Regions from separate parts of the Homo sapiens genome. Here region 1 is linked to region 2. Evidence: promoter capture Hi-C in human tissues and cell types (Jung and others, 2019). All regions are on one chromosome and are shown on one strand. The core of a region is centred on a gene start or on the middle of the fragment in contact, and the rest is flanking DNA. Distances in the headings are between cores, read along the strand shown.

Region 1 (6,186 bases), core at 673-3,172, 650 kb after region 2:
ATCATCTATTAAATGAAATCAAACTTACCTGGTTTGCTATTAAGAATTTGTAATCACCAGGTGGGTTCACCTTGCCCACTGCTTAGACAGAGCCAATTTATCAAGACAGGGGAATTGCAATGGCGTAAGAGTAATTCACGCAGATCCGGCTGTTCTGGAGAGGGTAGTGTTATTATTACTTAAATCAGTCTCCCCGAGCATTCAGAAATAAGAACGTTTAAAGATAATTTGGCAGCTAGGGGCTTGGGAAGTAGGAAGTGCTGATTACTCAGGTGGGAGATGGAATCATAGGGTGTCAAAGTGAGGTTTTCTTGCTGTGTTCTCTTCCTGGGTGTGATGGCAGAACTGGTTGGGTTAGATTACTGGTTTGGGTGGTGTCAGCTGATCCATTGAGTGCAGCGTCTGAAAAATATCTTAAGTGCTGATATTAGATTTTATAAAGTGATATTATCCCTGGGAGCACAATGGGGACATTCCAATTCTAGGAGCCAGAGGCTGCATGTCCCTTACATTGTAATTTTTAGTCTTGTAGCTAATTTGTTAGTCCTGCAAAGGGAGACTGGACCCCAGGCAAGAAGAGGGTCTTTTCGAGAAAAGGCTGTTACCGGTTTTGTTTCAGTCAAACCATGAACTGAATTCCTTCCCAAAGTCAGTTCGGCCTATGCCCAGGAATGAATAAGAACAGCTTAAGGGATAGAAGCAAGATAGAGTTGGTTAGGTCTTATTTCTTTCACTGTCGTAATTACCTCAGTTATAATATTGCAAAGGCAGTTTCAATCCCTCTGTTTGGGTTTTCTAATAGCTTAATCTTAAGGTGTAGGCTATGAAGATGGGAAAAGGCTGTCGATCACTCTGGCTTCTTCCTGCTGACAGGAGACATAGTGGAAATTAGAGTGAACCCCAAGGTGAGAAGAATGTAACCACTTTGCAACTGTCTGAGCATACTCATGCAGGACTGGCTGGGCTTCCAATGCTTGCAATGCAAAAACATTAGTACTCTCCTCTGTAGTTTTGCTATAATATTTAAGCCAACAGCCTCCTGTAAGGTAAATAACAAATCCTAGGATGAGGAGTACAATTCTCAATTTTAAAAGCAAAGATTGGAAAGCATTAATTTGGGGACTTCTAATCCACAAAGAATTTAGGATTTAGTCCAAACTGTAGGAAAAAACTCAAACAAAACTAACAATGGGTATATTATATGTTTTCTTTTGAAGCATAATTTTTCTCTCCAGACCCTATTTTTATTAAAAGTAAATTATAATAGAACTAATCTGTTTACCAAAATAAGCTTTAGTCTTACTGTACTTGGCCTGATTATTTGCATGAAGTGCAACAAGAATAATTATTTTTTATTTAGGCTGTTTTTTGTTTAAATTGGCTTTGATGGAACTCTGTTCCATGAGGAATCTCAGATAAGACTTTTTAAGAGCCAATCCCAGCCATGCATTTGTACCCTTAAATACCTATGAGTTGGGTAAATTCCTCTCCTCTCAAGGTCCCAAGATAACTTGGAGCTCATGAACCTGTTAGAAAGTGATATTCTTTACTTACTACAGATCAAGAACCTTGTACAAGGACTCTGTGTAGACAAGGTATGAAGCCAGATTCCCCAAGGGGCTTTTATTGGCTCTGTAAGTCAACTTCGATTCTTTAAGGGAAGAGTGCCATTCCAGTCAAAGCCTTGGTAAAATAACCAATTTCTCCAATTGTGTCATGTTACAAAAGAAAACAGATTTTTATTGTGCTTATGGAATTAACCATGCTGCCATAAATTGAGAATACTTACAAAGAGTTTCCAAATTCTGGAGAAATCAGGTAGAGAGAAACAAATATGCTTCAAAATTTTTTCACAGGAGTGTATTTTACCTACTTGTTAAAAGTTGCAAATATCTCTAAAGAAATAAGTTATCTTGACTGTGAAAACTGAAGGATTGGTGACATTTAAGACATCAGCTCTTCATGAGAGTCCTGGAAGTTTTGTTTTTTTCCTCTATTCCAATAGCACAATTTTTAAAGTTATCTGAGACCTGCACTCAGAGTCCTATACCTGATTATAAACTGCCTTTTGAAAACGACCAAAGCAAGACAAAATGTCTGTGGATGACAAAAGTCTATAGACACTATTAAAGCTATAATTGACTAGGAATTTTGCTTACTTCTGTGGCATCCAACAATTTTGTATAACAATTATAATTACTAATAATGTACAGTAAATTTTATCAGAATTATAGAAGTTTATATAAATACACAGACAGACAGAAAATTCAGCACTTGTAAGATTTTTTATTTGCCAGTTGTTAACTGGACTACTGGCTTCAGAGTGGAGCCCTTGGAGGAACAGGGCCAGGAAAGCATGCATTTTTTTTCCAAGCTAAATAAGCAGGCACAGCTGAAGGCAAAGACAGATCTCCAAAATGAAGGATGCCATTTTATACTGGATCCCAGATCCCCAAAAGGAAGGAAATACTACTGGAGAAGAGAGTGCAGTGCTTCTAACCTGCATTTTATTGCAAGGCAACCTAAAGCCAATCAACCCATTTTGAAATCAGCCCATCCCCCATGGAAGTCTCATCTCTCAGTCAGGCATGGGGATGTTTCCGTATCTTCCAGGTGGCCCAGAGCATGCTTCTCTGACCCAAGTGTGCGAAGAGCCAAGTTTCCCTCTGAAAATACTATTAGCCATCCCTTAAAGTATATTTCCTACCTAGTTATTACATACCAAAGCTATCTCATAATGCAAAGTAATTTCTGATATCCCCAAAATTCAAACTGTCAGATAACACAATGCAAAACAGAACAGAGCCTTTGATTTTGAGAGTGATCCATCTACTTTTAATTCCTTGGTTGTCATGAAGAAAACAGAGGGTTTTTTGTTTGTTTCTTGTTGTTTGTTTTTCCCAAAATGGGGTCTGTGGTGCTTCCTCTGTTTTTCTCAAGGAGTCTCAGGCTACCAAAAGTTATCTTAGTGCCTCTTATGTGTGCATTAAGAGTGGCAAGACAAAAAATGGAGAAAAATAATTCAGTTTACTAAGAAGAAAAAACCCTCTTTTACAGAAAAACGAGATCCAAGAAGAGAAAAACATAAAGGTCTTTTAAATGTATCCATAACTTGTTTATTCACTTTTAATTAAGCTGACTTTTAACCTTAGTGCTCTTAACAAAATCCTTTTAAATTTCGTATTACCCAACTTTAGCCATGCGGCCAACATTTCTGGCTTTTGAACTTTATCAAAAGTAACTTCCCAGGTGCTTCAAAGGTGTGGTAAGCAGTTTCTTTTTACAAGATTTAGAATTTCCCCAAGGTAGTCCAGAGAAAGGAAAATTCAAGAGAGGAAATCAGAAGCTATCCATGGGGTTGTGGGGGAACCTCATTAAATGGCAAAGTTATGCAAATAGCAAACCAGAAGGAAATTGTTCCAGAAGCCAAGAATAGAGCCTGAGCCTCTATGTCAAAAGGCAAAGTCTTAGCTACTGAATTACAGCATTGAGCAGTTTCTATTGCTATTCCAAGAAGGAGACTAGAGAAGCCACTTTTAACCTTGCCAAGGCTTTTAACTGCTCAAGAAAAATTTTTAGGGCTGGATGGTATAAACCAAAAGGAAGTATCCACATATGGTCACAAGATTAAGCTCTTAAGGAGGCCAAACAAGACAGAGAAATTTCATACAGTATTGGTTTCAGGGACCCATTATAATTGGCCAGCCTGCTGAGCTGGCTTGAAAAGCAGGCTTATAGGGGTCCTAAACCCATGTTCTATCTTGTGATACCCCTCTTTCCATTACAGAACACTGAAAGACAAATTCTTAGCAAAAATACACCAGATTTGCTATAGGCTAAGACTAGTCTTGTAAATTCTTTTTTCTATTAATCAAAACTTTACAGAGAAACATATAGTGATGTTTACTGTTTACACAGATGGAGAAAGAGAGAGAGACCAGAAACCTAGCTGGTAAGAATTTCTTACACTTTTTGCTGGCATACCAGATTTCTGGGTGCCTTTTCTCTGTAACTTCCAGAAGAACGGAACGGCTTCTGATCAGCCTGCTCACCTCACCATAGTTGTGGGGTTCAAGCCACTTTACAAGAAAAAAGTCACCATTTTCTGTTTTATGGAAACATAGGCAAGATTCTTAAAATGCAAGATGCTGCCCAACCAGCTGCATGGGGAACCATTTAACATTTTCTATCCCAGCAGAATTCACATAACAAAACAGACACTAGTCACCTCGTTCAGCACCCAATATCAACCTGGCAAAGCTCAGACTTTTTTCTGTTCGTCCCTGTTGTCTTTGATCCACTCCAGGTGGGGAGGGACGACCTCAGAACAGTAATTCACAATGGGGTCTCTGGGTAAGGCAAAGAGCAGATAGTCACCATGAGACAGGCCTATTGAACTTTCTCCAGGGCTCATCGAATGTAACCAAATAAGAAGAGTCCTCTGAGTTAGGCCTGCTGGACTTCCTTCAGCAATTCCTTCTGAGATTCCCTCCACATATACAAACACACACGAAGATGAGACAGACAGAAGGCCTTCCAAATCAGATGATCCCTAAACAGGAACTCCAAGAGTATCCCTTCCAAACTATCCTCCTATTCTCTGTCTGAGAAATCTCAAAATTGTCCTGATTGAGGACAAGTCTCGTGAACCAAGACTCTTCCTACTAGTTAGAGCCAACCAAGACCCCAGTGGAGCCGAACAGATACCCCGTGGTGGAGCTACAAACAGACACCCTGCAATGGGGCTACAGACACCCTGCAATGGGGCTACAGACACCCCATCATAGAGCTACAGACAAGTCGAGAGAAGGAAGGAGGCATTAGCAGTGCCTAGTAGATTCACCAATCCTAACACCCTGCAATGGGGCTACAGACAGACACCCCACTATGGGGCCACAGAACCAGTCAGGAGAAGGAAGGAGGCATTGGCAGCACCTAGGATACTCACCAATCCAGACACCCTTCAATGCAGCTACAGACGGAAACCCTGTGATAGGGCCACAGTTAGAGGACATCTCTCCAGGATTATTTCTCCGTTGCAATTAAATGCATGCACATTGGGTTGGCAGTGCCTGCCAGTGGAGAGAGTACCAGAGCCAGCCCCCAGTCCAAGAGAACTAGGCGGCTACTTGGGCTACCTTCTGGATCCATCGCTGGAGCGGGGGCACCAAACCACAAGCAGGTAGCCACAAAGGCTTTCCCAGTCTGATTTCGTTCATTGTTGTAATTTCCTCAGTTATAATTTTGCAAAGGTGGTTTCATATTCCTTAAGAGTTGAGCCACACATAAGTTTTATTCATTTGTTCCTACATGGACTTGACTACTGATTCAGTAAATAATTAGTAAATATTCAGTAAATAACTAGTAAAAAGAATGCCAAAAATAGTGCAGATGTAGTTCATGGCCCCTGTCCTCACAGAGCATAAATTCTAACAGTGGATAGAGATAAGTAGGCTGGGAATCACAATTAAATGGAAAAATAAAAAAAAAGGCTGGATGTGGTGGCTCAGGCCTGTAATCCAATAGCAGCAATTTGGGAGACCAAGATGGGTGGATCACCTGAGGTCAGGAGTTCGAGATCAGCCTGGCCAACATGGTGAATCCCCATCTCTACTAAAAATACAAAAATTAGCCAGGCGTGGTTGTGTGCACCTGTAGTCCTAGCTACTCAGAAGGCTGAGGCAGGAGAATCGCTTGAATCCGGGAGGCAGAGATTGCAGTGAGCCAAGATAGCACCACTGCACTTCAGCCTGGGTGACAGAGTGAGACTCTGTCTCACAAAAATATATAAATACATAAATAAATAAATGGAAAAAAAATGCTACTCTAAGGAGATACAAGGTGCCCTAGGAGCATATATCTCTGATGCTGTCTCCTCTGGAAGAATCAGAGAGGATTCCCTTAAGAAAATACCATCTAATCTGATACTTGAAGGATAGACAGATAGACAGATAGACAGAGAACAGTTCAAAAACCAGAAGAAATTAGAAGCGGGGGTGCTGAAACTATACAGATCCCTAAGTAGAGACTTGATTCCCTGAGAAAGGTGCCATCTAATCTGAGACTTGAAGGTTAGACAGACAGCAGTAGGAAAACAAGAATGAATGAGAAGGTAGGGGCTGGAAATACAGAGACCCCTAAATAGAATCTTTCCAGAAATTAAATGAAGGCAGAACGTTTTGAATG
Region 2 (6,661 bases), core at 66-2,565:
ACAACCAAATTCCCCGAAGACTTTCCCCCAACTTATTTCAATCCTACTTAAGCGACTATAGGTAAAGGTGGAAATAGGGCTATGGGCTGAGAACGCATGGGTGGGCTGCCCTGGGTGTATTCCAACGGAACCTGCACTAAAGAGGAAGTCTTTTTGCAAAGGAGAGAAAGGAAGAGGAGGGAAACAGAGGGGAAGGGAACTGCTGAAGGTTTCCCTGAATTGCTTATCAGCAACTCATTTAACTCACTTTCGGATATCTGCTACAACCAGCCACATGCACACCCCATCGGAGCACACCTTACCTATTTGCACGCTGCTCGGAAAGGCTCCCATGGCGAGTCCCCAAAATCCAGAAAATAACAAGACAATCTGTCTGGAAATAATCCTCATCTTCTTTTCTCCTCTCCCTGGCGCGCGCTCTCTCTCTTTCTCTCGCACTCTTCCTAAAGGCTGTTCAGAGAAGCATTGAAGACGATGGCGCTAAAATTAAAATCAACCAAAAAAAAAAAAAAAAAAAGAAAAGAAAGAAAAGAAAGAAAAAAAAGGAAAGAGGTTTCGGTGGTTTAAGATTATGACTAGTTCTCCTTAGCAATCCATCGCGAGCCGCCAGATTTTTCCCGCAGTCTCCATAGCCCTGGGAGAGGTTTTCTGTCCGGCTGCAAATGTTGCACATGCAAAAGATGGTGGTGGAGCGTCTAGTGGCTGCTCGCAGGGATGAGACATGCGCTCTATCTTTGCCTCACTCGCACTCGCGCTCGCCCCTTGCTTTCTCACATACACACAAACACTGGCGCCGCGGCCGCCACACGCGCTCTCCAGCTCGCATCAGCCGACATCCCCCAGCAAGCCTGCACCAGCCCGGAGCATCGCTGCCCTCCTGGCGTCCCCTCCTCGAGCGCGCACTCCCTCCGCACGCCCCTCGCCCACCGCTCGGCTGGCTTCACCCCCTGGGTGCTCACCGGAGCGCCCCAGTCTCCCGGACGCTCCGGAGCCAGTCTGGTGTCAGGTTTTCCCTTCTGACCACTCGCTGACTCCCTCCTCTTTTCTTCCTCGGTTCGCAGAGGGACCGACTCTGGGGATGGGCACCCCCAGCGCCCCTCTCTTGGTTTTCCTGGCACCTCTGCTTCTCGGCTGCGCTAGGCAGAAAATCCGCCCACGGGCCAGGTCTGCAAGCCCCAATCGGGGGCTCCGGGGGGTTAGTACCTCCCCATGCCCCCAGGCCCCTGCCGCATCCTTGCAGGTTCGTGAGGAGGACGGGCTGCCTCCCTCTCCTACAGTCCTGGCTTCCCTCTCAGCCTAGCCCTCTTCTGCCACTGGGCTGCGCGCGGGGGACTCCGGTCCTCGCTGCAGCAAAGATTTCTCACCAGCAAACAGCCCGGGAATCTGGAGAGCCTGACAAGGGAATGGATGAGGTGAAAGGGTTCAGAGAGGGATGGGAGGAGAAAAGACAGGCAAAGGGCAGCCCCTGGCGGGTTTAAGAGGCCAGGACCAGGATGAAAGAATTGGAGGAGGTAAGGATGGGGAAGAGAGCCAGAGAAGTTGAAACATCCTGGGAAGGGGAGGAGGGGGTAAAAGGTTATTTTAAATAACTGACGAAGTTTAGGGTACTGAACGGGATGGGGAAAAGACTGAGAAATGAAAATTGAAAGAGGCCTCTAACATTCTCTTGGAAAGGCATGAAGCAGGGATAGGAATAAGAACTGCGTGAAGTGTAAAGTAGGAAAAGTGATTAAAGATTCGATTGCTTTCTATACAGTCACCCATTCCGGAGGACTCTTTCCTTCTGTGCTGTGGCCCATTGCAGGAGCAGGAGGGACACAGCGCAAAGGCTGATGAAGGACCAGAGGGGCAGTGCTTGGGGCAGTGGGCACAGGTGTCTGACAGGAAGATAGTGTTTCGTGCACATCTCCTCTTGTCTGGGACTCTGGAATGCTCACTCTGCTCCACGCCACCTCCAGGTAGACTTAAGCACTTCAGTGATGATGTCAATAGTTGTTTTGACTGGGTAGAAGTGAAAATGAATTATCCTAGAAAGTTTTGGGGTTACAGTCTCACTTGCTCTCCAGAGTCACCTTTAAGATTGTCCTTTCATCTGCCTGTCCTGGACTGAGCTTGAACCACACTCAGAAGCAGTCACTGTGGTAGCCGTGAGTGACCGGTTTCTGATTTCCTCTGTATGGTTTGAGATTTCCTGATCTAGTTAGTAAATACAATCTCCTGTTCCAATAAGCTGTGTGAGAGAATCATTAGAAGGAGAGGTTCTCCTTAAACGTTAGGGAACCTAGGGTGATGTCTGCCATTAAATTTTTAAAAAGAATATAGCAAATGCCTAGGTTTGCCTGATATAATATTTGAGACTACAATGCTTAAAGTGGAATTCTTGCAAGGGACTTACAGAAAGCCTGGTAACGGCTTTTTGAAATATACATTACCTTAACTCTTTCAAAATACTTTATTTGGTGTCACTGATTACCTGTATTTGTAGTTTGTAGATGACATTTTAAAATCCCTGCTAAAACTTGAGTGCTTTTCTATTTCCTAAGTTTTGAATTTTATTTTTAAAATTGCATCTTTAAAATAAGTGTCTGCTTTCCCGTTACATTTCACCACAGATTGTTATGAAAAAAAAAACCTAATTGTAACTGTATTTTACAAATCATACATTTGTCATTTTAGTTTGTGAAGTTTTAGTCTTGCAAGTCAAGTGAAATTTGAAGCATTTTTCCTTTTTTTATTTTTCTGTGTTAAAAAACAAGGCTGTGAATAATAGCATTCTGTTTTCTCTTGAAAAAGGATAATAGAGTATGACACATAAAATTCAAGTTAAATTAAAATTTCAAAATCCACCAAACTGTTAAACTCATCACTTGCTTGGGTAACTAGTGAAGCTCTTCCTGATCCAGAGGCAATTATTAACTTTAATTCTTCTCAAAATTGAAAGATTTCAGTTTTCATATGATGTAATAGCATCATTGATATAGATGCAGGACAAGTTTTTTTTCCCCACTTAACTGTCATGATAACACCTGGACTAATATAACCACAGATGACACAACTATATTTTTCCAAAATAGTAATCCAGTTGTTTTTAATTTCTATTTTCCCAAGTAGTTAAAACCTCTATTTTACTTTCTAAACCTAAACTCTCTTTATCTGTATTATATACACATATATTTATAAATGTATGTATCAAATATATTTTCTCTGTATGATACATAGAAATATCATATATACATATATTATATACGTATATACATGTATATAGATGTACATATATGTCAAATAGTTATATATTAAGCACCTATGATGTGTATTTATTCTCCAAGTGTTTGAGATATAAAGTTGAACAAAACAAAATCCCTGATATTCTTAGAAGACTCTTAATGTTTATGAATGCTCACTAATGTGCAAGGTATTGTGCTGAAGCCATACATATATTACCTGATCTACAGAAAATTTTAGGTATCCTTGCATTTGTTAGGTAACCCAACTAAAGATTTAGATTCTTTCTCAAGATTATATTCTTGGTAAGTGATGAAACCATAACTAAGGATGGGACTCAAGTTGTCTGATTTCAGAGACTGGGCTGTCTTTATTAAAACCTGCTGTGTTAATGAGTTTAAGGAGTGACGAGGGGTCTGGGAGCTGAAAAGTAAACTACAAGAATCCTAGCATTCAGAAAGGTAGTGTGTTCTACCTGAAAGACCTCAGGCTTTCAGACTAATAATTAGTAACTGGTTTCAGATTACAGGCCCTCAATTTCTTAGCTGTATTGACTTGGATATATTACCTAACATTTCTTTTCTGACAGGATATAAGTAAACTTTCAACACAGTTCTGGCACATAACTGGCAACTCTTGTCAATAATGAGTTGCCCCCCAAAATGTGATAAAGGCTCTTATAGAGTGAGGTGCAGAGTGCCATGTGAGCAAAATAGAGTGTCTAACTCTGACTTTGAGGGAATTCAGGGAGAACTCACAGAGAGAAAAATAAAATTGAACTGAGTTGCTATGTGTTTGTAGGGATTATCAAGTGGAGAAAAATTATGTCTTTCTAGACACTGCTAAAAGCTTGGTAAAACTAGACTTCAGGTTATATGAGGGGAAGTAGTGGAAGTGCGGCTGGAAAGCAAAGCAAGAGATGGCTCGGCACCATCTCACTCAGAAGCATTGTCTTCGTCTCATAGAGACAGAGAAACAATGAACGGTTATAAGCAAGGGGGCAAAATGACCAGATTTGTACTTTAGATCAGAAATCTGATGCTAGGAAACCAACCCATATTTTTAATAATAAACCTTTCATTTGGAATAATTTTATTTACATAAGTGTTTCTAATTAACTACGGAGAGTTCCCCTGTACCCTTCATCCAATTTCAGTTTTCCTTAATGTTATCATCTTACATTACTCTGGTACCTTTGTCAAAAATAAGAAACTGACACAGGTATGTCACTGTTAATTAAACACCAGACTTTATTTACAGTTATATCAGTTTTTCCATTAGAGTATTTTTCTGTGCCAGGATCTAGCTCCGGACACCTCATTATATTTAGTTGTCATAGCTCCTTGTTCTGTTTTGTGACAGTTTCATCTTCGTTTTTCATATGACATCAACAGCTTGATAAGTACTGGATAGGTGTTTGCAGAATGTCTCTCAATTGGGATTTGCCTGATACTTTTCTCAGGATCAGACTGGGGTTATGGATTTTCAGAAAAGAGTACCATACAGGTGAAATGCTCTTCTCAACACATCATACAATGGAATCCATGATATCCCCTGACGTCACTGGTGACATTAACCTTCATCAGTTGGTTAAAGTGTTTTTGCACATTTTATCCACTCTAAATTAACTGTTTGTTTGTTTGTTTTTATTCCATACTGTATTCCTTGGAAGTGAGTAACTAACTATATCCTACTCTCCACGAGGGGAGAGTATCTACATAAATTACTTGAAATTTTTGTATTGAAGCATCGTCTCTTCTCTCCCATTTTGAAAAAACGTAGTCATTAATTTAAATCAGTGTGGACACATGTATATTTATGTGTTTATATTATTTTTTAACATTTAAGCACAGGGATACATGTGCAGGTTTGTTACATAGGTAAACTTGAGTCATGGGGGTTTGTTGTACAGATCATTTTATCACCCAGATATTAAGCCTACTACCCATTAGTTATTTTTCCTGATCCTCTCCCTTCTCACACCCTCCACCCTCCAAAAGGCCCCAGTGTGTGTTGTTCCTCTCTGTGTGTCTATGTGTTCTCATCACTTGGTTTACTGTTCCTGTGTCAGTTTGCTAAGGATCATGGTCTCCAACTCCATCCATGTTCCTGCTACAGACATGTTCTTGTTCTTTTTTATGGCTGCATAGTATTCCATGGTGTATATGTATCACATTTTCTTTATCCAGTCTATCATTGATGATAATTTAGGTTTATTTTATACTTTGGGTTATATAGTCTGATACTATGCTATTTGTTATTTATTGTGCTGTTCAAGTTGGTCCAGCTTTGGACATTAGGAGCTATTGATATATGTCCATCCTTTTGTTTTCTGAACATTTCCAGCCTTATTGTCACTATAGGAAGCTGTCTGTACATTACCTTTTATATTCCTTGCCCTAGCCTTAGTATGAGCCTTTTCAATAAGGAGTCCTGATTCTTTTCATTGCAGATTGGTATTTAAAAACCAAGATCTAGCAATGGGGTTGCTAACTGTTACTGAGTTGTCATTGCTTCCAGACTCTCACATAGGACAGTGCTTGGTTATACATGTATAACCCGTGTTGGTGTACATACCTATAATTGTTTCTCTATCCATCTATCTATGTATTAAGTTAAAAATGAGTTGTTACCGATGTTCGCAACTAAAATTCAGTACTACAGCATTCATTCTAATCTCCCTTCTTGCTTATCCGTACCTTACTTCTCCAACATTAAGAAACCTAGTTCCCACAGCCAAGTTAAATACATTTATCTATTATATTAAACCTAAACTTAAGTTCTCCAAAAACAATTGAATTTTTGGTACTATATTTTTGTTTTCAGCTACTGGTGATTACTGAAAACCCATGTCTATTATTGTTAGTTATCTGTATTCCTAGGAAACATCAAATTTCACAAACATTAATATAAATATATGGCACTTTTTGTGATATTCTGTCCTAAAAGAAGTGAGTACATTATTCAAATGACTACCAACAATTTAATAAATTTATTTGTGTATTTACTAGTTTAATGATTTCTTTGCAAAACCTAGTTTTTTTCAGTGCCTATATATTTTTCTCCAGTTAAGCTGATACTTTCCAGTTTTCATATATTTTGCTGCTGTCACTTTCCAGCAATAGGAACAATACCCTAGTGCCTCACAGAATATATTGCTTTACCTTTTTATCTATCTGTCAACCTTGCATGAAATCAGCACACTAATCTTGCCCTATAGCAGTTGCTTGATTAATCTTTTGTCATCTGTCTACCTCACATGGTCTCTCCATGAAACTGATTGACATTGTGCGTGACTTTAATGCTGATAAATTATCTCTCTTCCAGGACTACAGAATCCTCATTACACCAAAAAGATTACTTTTCTTGTTTTATGTTCCTCATTCTTCTCTCAAGTCACTGTAATTGAAAGAGGTCACTGAGTAGAACTTGGCAGTCT

What was found. The method cuts DNA at HindIII sites, captures the fragments that hold promoters and counts their contacts. A contact is called where the count stands out against the background at its distance.
Region 1: a fragment that was not itself captured here is called in contact with the fragment with the promoter of GRIA4 in region 2 in 1 of the 25 tissues and cell types used here (mesendoderm cells).

Annotation. Positions count from the first base shown.
Region 1 is chr11:104,960,079-104,966,264 of GRCh38, reverse strand. All of the region lies in intron 1 of CASP4 (caspase 4), which reads left to right. It overlaps LOC124902813 (a long non-coding RNA gene), which reads right to left and starts at 5,822. Exons shown (of 2, transcript XR_007062986.1): 1 at 1-5,822. The HindIII fragment of the contact is 5,410 bases long and covers 1-4,627 here.
Region 2 is chr11:105,604,727-105,611,387 of GRCh38, reverse strand. GRIA4 (glutamate ionotropic receptor AMPA type subunit 4) reads right to left here and starts at 1,315. Exons shown (of 17, transcript NM_000829.4): 1 at 960-1,315; 2 at 303-480. The coding sequence starts at 390. RefSeq lists a silencer at 139-339. The HindIII fragment of the contact is 8,669 bases long and covers 1-5,818 here.